2 separate regions of the Homo sapiens genome follow, and region 1 is linked to region 2. Evidence: promoter capture Hi-C in human tissues and cell types (Jung and others, 2019). All regions are on one chromosome and are shown on one strand. The core of a region is centred on a gene start or on the middle of the fragment in contact, and the rest is flanking DNA. Distances in the headings are between cores, read along the strand shown. Region 1 holds the start of GJA9 (gap junction protein alpha 9). Region 2 holds the start of INPP5B (inositol polyphosphate-5-phosphatase B).

Evidence for each region. The method cuts DNA at HindIII sites, captures the fragments that hold promoters and counts their contacts. A contact is called where the count stands out against the background at its distance.
Region 1: a contact is called between the fragment with the promoter of GJA9 here and the fragment with the promoter of INPP5B in region 2, in 2 of the 25 tissues and cell types used here (dorsolateral prefrontal cortex and spleen).

Annotation. Positions count from the first base shown.
Region 1 is chr1:38,880,197-38,882,896 of GRCh38, forward strand. GJA9 (gap junction protein alpha 9) reads right to left here and starts at 1,391. Exons shown (of 2, transcript NM_030772.5): 1 at 1,236-1,391. It overlaps GJA9-MYCBP (GJA9-MYCBP readthrough), which reads right to left and starts at 1,430. Exons shown (of 3, transcript NR_037637.1): 1 at 1,236-1,430. The HindIII fragment of the contact is 16,120 bases long and covers 1-2,700 here.
Region 2 is chr1:37,945,612-37,948,446 of GRCh38, forward strand. INPP5B (inositol polyphosphate-5-phosphatase B) reads right to left here and starts at 1,442. Exons shown (of 24, transcript NM_005540.3): 1 at 1,379-1,442; 2 at 641-723; 3 at 145-239. The coding sequence starts at 697. It overlaps LOC105378651 (a long non-coding RNA gene), which reads left to right. Exons shown (of 5, transcript XR_001737983.3): 5 at 1-16. RefSeq lists enhancers at 1,264-1,793, 1,371-1,610. The HindIII fragment of the contact is 19,061 bases long and covers 1-2,835 here.

The DNA.
Region 1 (2,700 bases), core at 141-2,640, 930 kb after region 2:
GTTTGAGACCAGCCTGGCCAACATGGTTGAAACCCTTGCTCTACTAAAAATACAAAAATTAGTCGGGCGTGGTGGCGGGCGCCTGTAGTCCCAGCTACTCGGGAGGCTGAGGCAGAAGAATCACTTGAACCCAGAGGCAGAGGTTGCAGTGAGCCGAGATCACACCATTGCACTCCAGCCTGGGCGACAGAGCAAGACTCTGTCTCAAAAAAAAATAAATAATAATAATAATAATAATAATAATAATAATAATAATAGCATACTCTGACCCAACAACCCAAAGCACTTTAAAATGTAAGCAAGTTGGCCAGGCGCGGTGGCTCACGCCTGTAATCCCAGCACTTTGGGAGGCACAGGCGGGCGGATTACGAGGTCAGGAGTTCGAGACCAGCCTGAGCAACATGGTTGAACCCCATCTCTACTAAAAATACAAAAATTAGCCGGGCATGGTGGCACATGCCTGTAATCCCAGCTACTCAGGAGACTGAGGCAGGAGAATCGCTTGAACCTGGGAGGTGAAGGTTGCAGTGAGCCGAGATCTGGCCACTGCATTCCAGCCTGGGCAATAGAGTGAGACTCTGTCTCAAAAAATAAAAAAAAAGTAAGCAAGTTAAGTCTCATTTATGGTTCATAAATAATAATAATGTAAGCAAAGATGTAATTCATGTTGTTTATAATAGTCATAAGCTAAAAACATAAAATAATAATACAAGAAAAACTGGTTAAATAATCGACTACATCCACGGTGTGATACTATGCAACCAGTAGAAATGATAAACATACATAAAATGGCATTTGATATTTCATTTCAGTGAAATTGATGTTATAAAATAGAATAATATGGCCCCATTATTATAAGTTTAGTTACATTTACAGATGTATACAAAAAAGTCTAGAAGGATATTCATGAAAATATTAACGGTGATTAGCTCTGGATGTTGGGATTACAAATTATATACTTAATATATTGTAATTACATGTATTTTAATTTTTTACTATAAGCATTTTACTTTTATAATCATAAAAAGAAAGAAAATATTTTTTTCATAAAGGACAACACATAGTATTTCCTGAAAGAAGGAGCAGTAGTATTTAGCTACAAATTAAAGCTTTCATAGCAAATGACATAAAAACTGGTATACATATATACAGTACCATAGAATTCAAAAGAAAAAGATAAAAACATTTCAAACAACTCTTTCTTAATAAGCTAAAACAGAGAGATTAACACAAACCTTTCTTAGTTTAGGTAAATCTGAGAAGCAAACCATGTTTAGAAGTTACAGCATGGCCATCTTCAATTTATTTTCTGAATTTGTCCCTTTGCTGGTATAGAGCAGATTCAGTTCAGTTGAATGTAGTGAGTGAGTCATCCATCAACTAAAATCCATGTCCCTTTCTGCTTATCCTTGCTTTTAAAACAGCACCATCCAATAGAACTTTCTGCAACAATGGAAATATTCTATCTGTGCTAGCCAATAAGGCAGCCAGTAGCCAAATGTAGCTATTGAACACTTGCATTATGGTTTGTGTGTCAGAGCAATTGAATTTTTAATTTTAAATAATTTTAATAAAAATGTAAAGAGCTGCATCTACCTAATGGCTGCTTTTTTGGACAGCACAGATAAAGAATGCTTATAATAGTCCTGATAACACACTGCAATCTAGAAGACTAAAGTCATGAGCCCCAAATTAAGCTGAGTGAATGATTCCTCCATAATTCAGAGATGTCAAATTTAAAATGACAGGAGGTATTTGTGTGCTGTTTGTATGCAACTTTTGCCACTGGGGGAACCTAATAAAATGTCATTGTTTTTTGTGCAATAAACCATGTTTCTAGAACCAAAAAAGTCTTTCTTACTAGATAATAACTTCTTGGTCATCTGCCTTAATAAATGGGTCATGTCCGATTTCATAGATAGATCCTGATTCTGTCTCCCATGTTCTGTTATTAACAATTACATTGTATTTTAGGTCATTAAAGGTCCCTTCAGAGCTAGTGATCTGGCAGGTTGAGCATAACAGATAAATACTTCTTCCCTGGGCTTTTTTGCCAACAATAGCTACTTCTCAGATTAAATACAAACATTTCACCAGGGACAAATATATATATATATATATATATATATATATATATATATATATATATATATATTTACATATATATTTTTATATATATATTATTTATATATATATATATTTGTATAGGCACACATACATGCACAATATATTCATGTTTCTATATTATGTGTTATCTGAATTACATATGTGTAACTCATAAATTATTAATAAACTCGAAACTTCCTCAACCTCGGTAGTCAGAGAATACATATTTAAGTGAAATATTATTTTTTAACTATCAAAATGCAAAATTTTAAAGATTTATAATACCTTCTTTTGGCAAAGTAGGGAGACACTGTTACTCTCATATCCTGTAGGTAAGAATATAAATGGATACAGCTATTTAAAAGGCAGTTTAAACCTATCAATATTAGTATAGCATTTCTGCTTTTGGATACTTGAAATATTCATTCAGCATAGACATTCAGAGACACACTGCACATGCTAGGATGTTCACATAGCACTGTTGGTAATTATACAAAAGCAGCAATAATTTAAATGTCTGACAGAGGAATGGTTATCTATGGTACATCTATATCATTCAGCAATTCAGAGAATAAAGATTTCTATGAACTAATA
Region 2 (2,835 bases), core at 192-2,691:
GTTCAAAAAATATTAACTATCATTGTGATAATTATTCTAGGAGACTCAGACCCTGCCCTGGAGGGACAGTTGAAGTTCAGCTGGAGGGTGCAGTGATGAACAACCCCATGGCCCAGACAGGTGGGGACCAAGCCCCTCACTCACGCGTGTTCCTGGCCGCCGTGCTCCAGGCGGTAGCGCACGAGTCCCAGGAGGCGGCTCTGCCGGCTGTCCCCCTCACACAGCACACCTTGCACCGCCTGCGGCTCAGAGTCAAGGGAAGACAACCCAGAGGCGAGGCCTCTCCCCACCCAGGCTGTCCCACCTTCCCTCTGTTCCCCTGCCCCCCCAGATTCACTGTGTGGCCTTGGGTGAGCACTCAAACCATGTGCTGAACTAACAGACAAACAGGCTCTCTAAGCCTTCCTTATCTATGAAATGAGGATAATAATCCCCAACTTCATAGGGAGTTAGGAGGATAACTGCGTATTTAAAGCATTTGGCTGAGAGTCCAGGACTCAGTAAGTACTTAGTAAATACTGATTTCCTTCTCCCCTGATGGTTCAGAGGGGCAGGAGAGGGGATAGACACCTCGACACCTTCCATTCCTCTTCCCAAGGCCAGGGCAGGCTCAGGGCCGCAGTTAGCACAGGAAGGATATGATGACGCAGTATTCCCCCTCAGCCAGCGTCTCCTGGATTGCCACAGACTGGTCCATGCTGGCCCCTGCTGAGCGCACACACCCTGTGGGAGGGGAGATAGGAGCCCCGCTTTGGTCAACAAGTTACGCATGGGGTGGTGGAGCTGCCTCAGAGGGGTTGGGGGCAGGAGGGAGGGGCCTTTGCAGAGGGAGATGGTACCGGGGAGGCCTGATCCTCCTCCTCCTCCTCTTTGTCCTCCCTAGAATAGGCCTTTCAGTTTTTAGGGATAGGGGTCCAGTCCCTTTGCCCCGCTGGGATCTACAGTTTGCTATACTGCCTTTGTCTGGGAGGGCATCCAGTTGCTCTTGAGTGTGGTCTATCCTTGTTGGAAGTGGGGTACGTGGATTGGAGAAGGGGACCTAGTCCCTTTGCTCCTAGGACATGGCTCTTCCTCTCTTTTGGGGACAGTTTTTGTTCTGCTAGCGCCTCTCTGGGAGGTGTCAGTGGTGTGTCCATGTGGGGTTCAGGGAACATCCCCTTACTGTCATTCAGGAGGGTCCCATTCCTCTTTCCTTGGAGACAGGAAGTGTCCCATTGCTGCTTGCCCTTCACCCCCGCCCCAGCAGGCCCATTGCATCAGCTGCAGGCCGGGGGTTGGGGGGTGTCCCAGCCCTCAGCTTGCCCACTCCCTCCTGCCCAGCCCTGCCCTGGCTTTCCTGCTCTGCTCCCACCCACAGCTCCCTGACATTGTCACCTACCTCCTGAGCTGTCACCACAGGGCGCACGGGACTCCGCTGCCCCAGGTTCCGGGACAGTGACTACATTTCCCAACAGCCCCTGCGCCACATGGTGGTCAGTCAGCCTGCAAGTCCCAGCATGCCCGAGTCAATCGTGGGGTGGGGAGTCTCTCCATCCGTGTTAACCCCTTAGGCCCTGGGGTACACTGGGCTTCCTATACCAGAAAGGTTTTCTAATGATTGCCCTCACTCCCATCCCCAGCCCTCTAGGTCATGGGGCCAGAGCTTCCCACCCAGAAGGAAGATGGTCACATTTTATCTTAGGGGAAGAATATAATGCATTTTTATTTTCTCCTTAGTTCCATCCTCAGCTCTTCTCACTCCAGGGTAGACAACCCGGACCTCTACTGAAACTCTTCCCCTAAAATAACTACCTTCTCCTGGTTTAATGGAGGGAGAACCAGACTATGAAGAACCATTATGTCCATTTTCCAGGTGGAGAAACTGAGCCTTGGATAGGTTAAGCAGTTTGACATTAAGTCCTGCAGCTAGCAGGTGGCAACACTGGGACTCCACTGAAAGTCTGACTGCAACTCCTGGGCCATTTATACCGCTACACACTGCCCTATTTCCTCCCTTAGCCCCACCCAGCCCTCCTGCCACACAGGGCTGTTTGAGGCTACTGGGTGTGAACGCACTTTATAAAGGGTATGACACTGTTCCTGTCCGGCAACGTCCTTCCCCTGATCCGCCTGGCTTTGTGACCTTGGCCAAGACCTTTCTTCCCTTGGGACTCAATTTCCCCATCTAAGATAAGGAGGTTACCCAAGATGGACAAAAAGAGCCAGCACAGGGACTGGGCACAGTGGCTCATGTCTGTAATCCCGGCACTTTGGAAGGCCAAGGAGGGAGGATCGCTTGAGGCCAGGAGTTTGAGACCCCATCTCTAAAAAAAAATTTTTTTAAATTTAGCCGGGTATGGTGGTGCATGCCTGTAGTCCCAGCTACTTGGGAGGCTGAGGTGGGAGGATTGCTTGAGCCCAGGAGTTCAAGGCTGCAGTGAGCTGTGATTGCTCACCCAGCTCAGATAAGGAATGCTAGGATCATTCTCACTTGGCCTATTGGCTGTTTAATTAAGCTGTAAGCTCCCGTTGGACAGGACTATGCCTTTTCATCAACATACCAGCAGTTTCTGGCACACAGTTATCTATGGAGTTAGTGAATTACTTTCTGAACTATTTTAATAAATACACCTTCTCTCAAGCTTTGGCCCAAACTGAAGGAATGGGCCTTCAGTGCTGGGGAGGGGGTGACTGTTGTGACTTGTGAACAGTTTCCCTTCCTCTTTCCCCAAGTGAAGTGGCCATCCTAATGACCAGTTCAACTTTGCATATGTAAACCCCTTCCAGAAACAGTCGTTGCCTTCTTCTCAATCCATTTCTTTTCCTGGAAACATCCACAGCACAAATGGAGCTCAA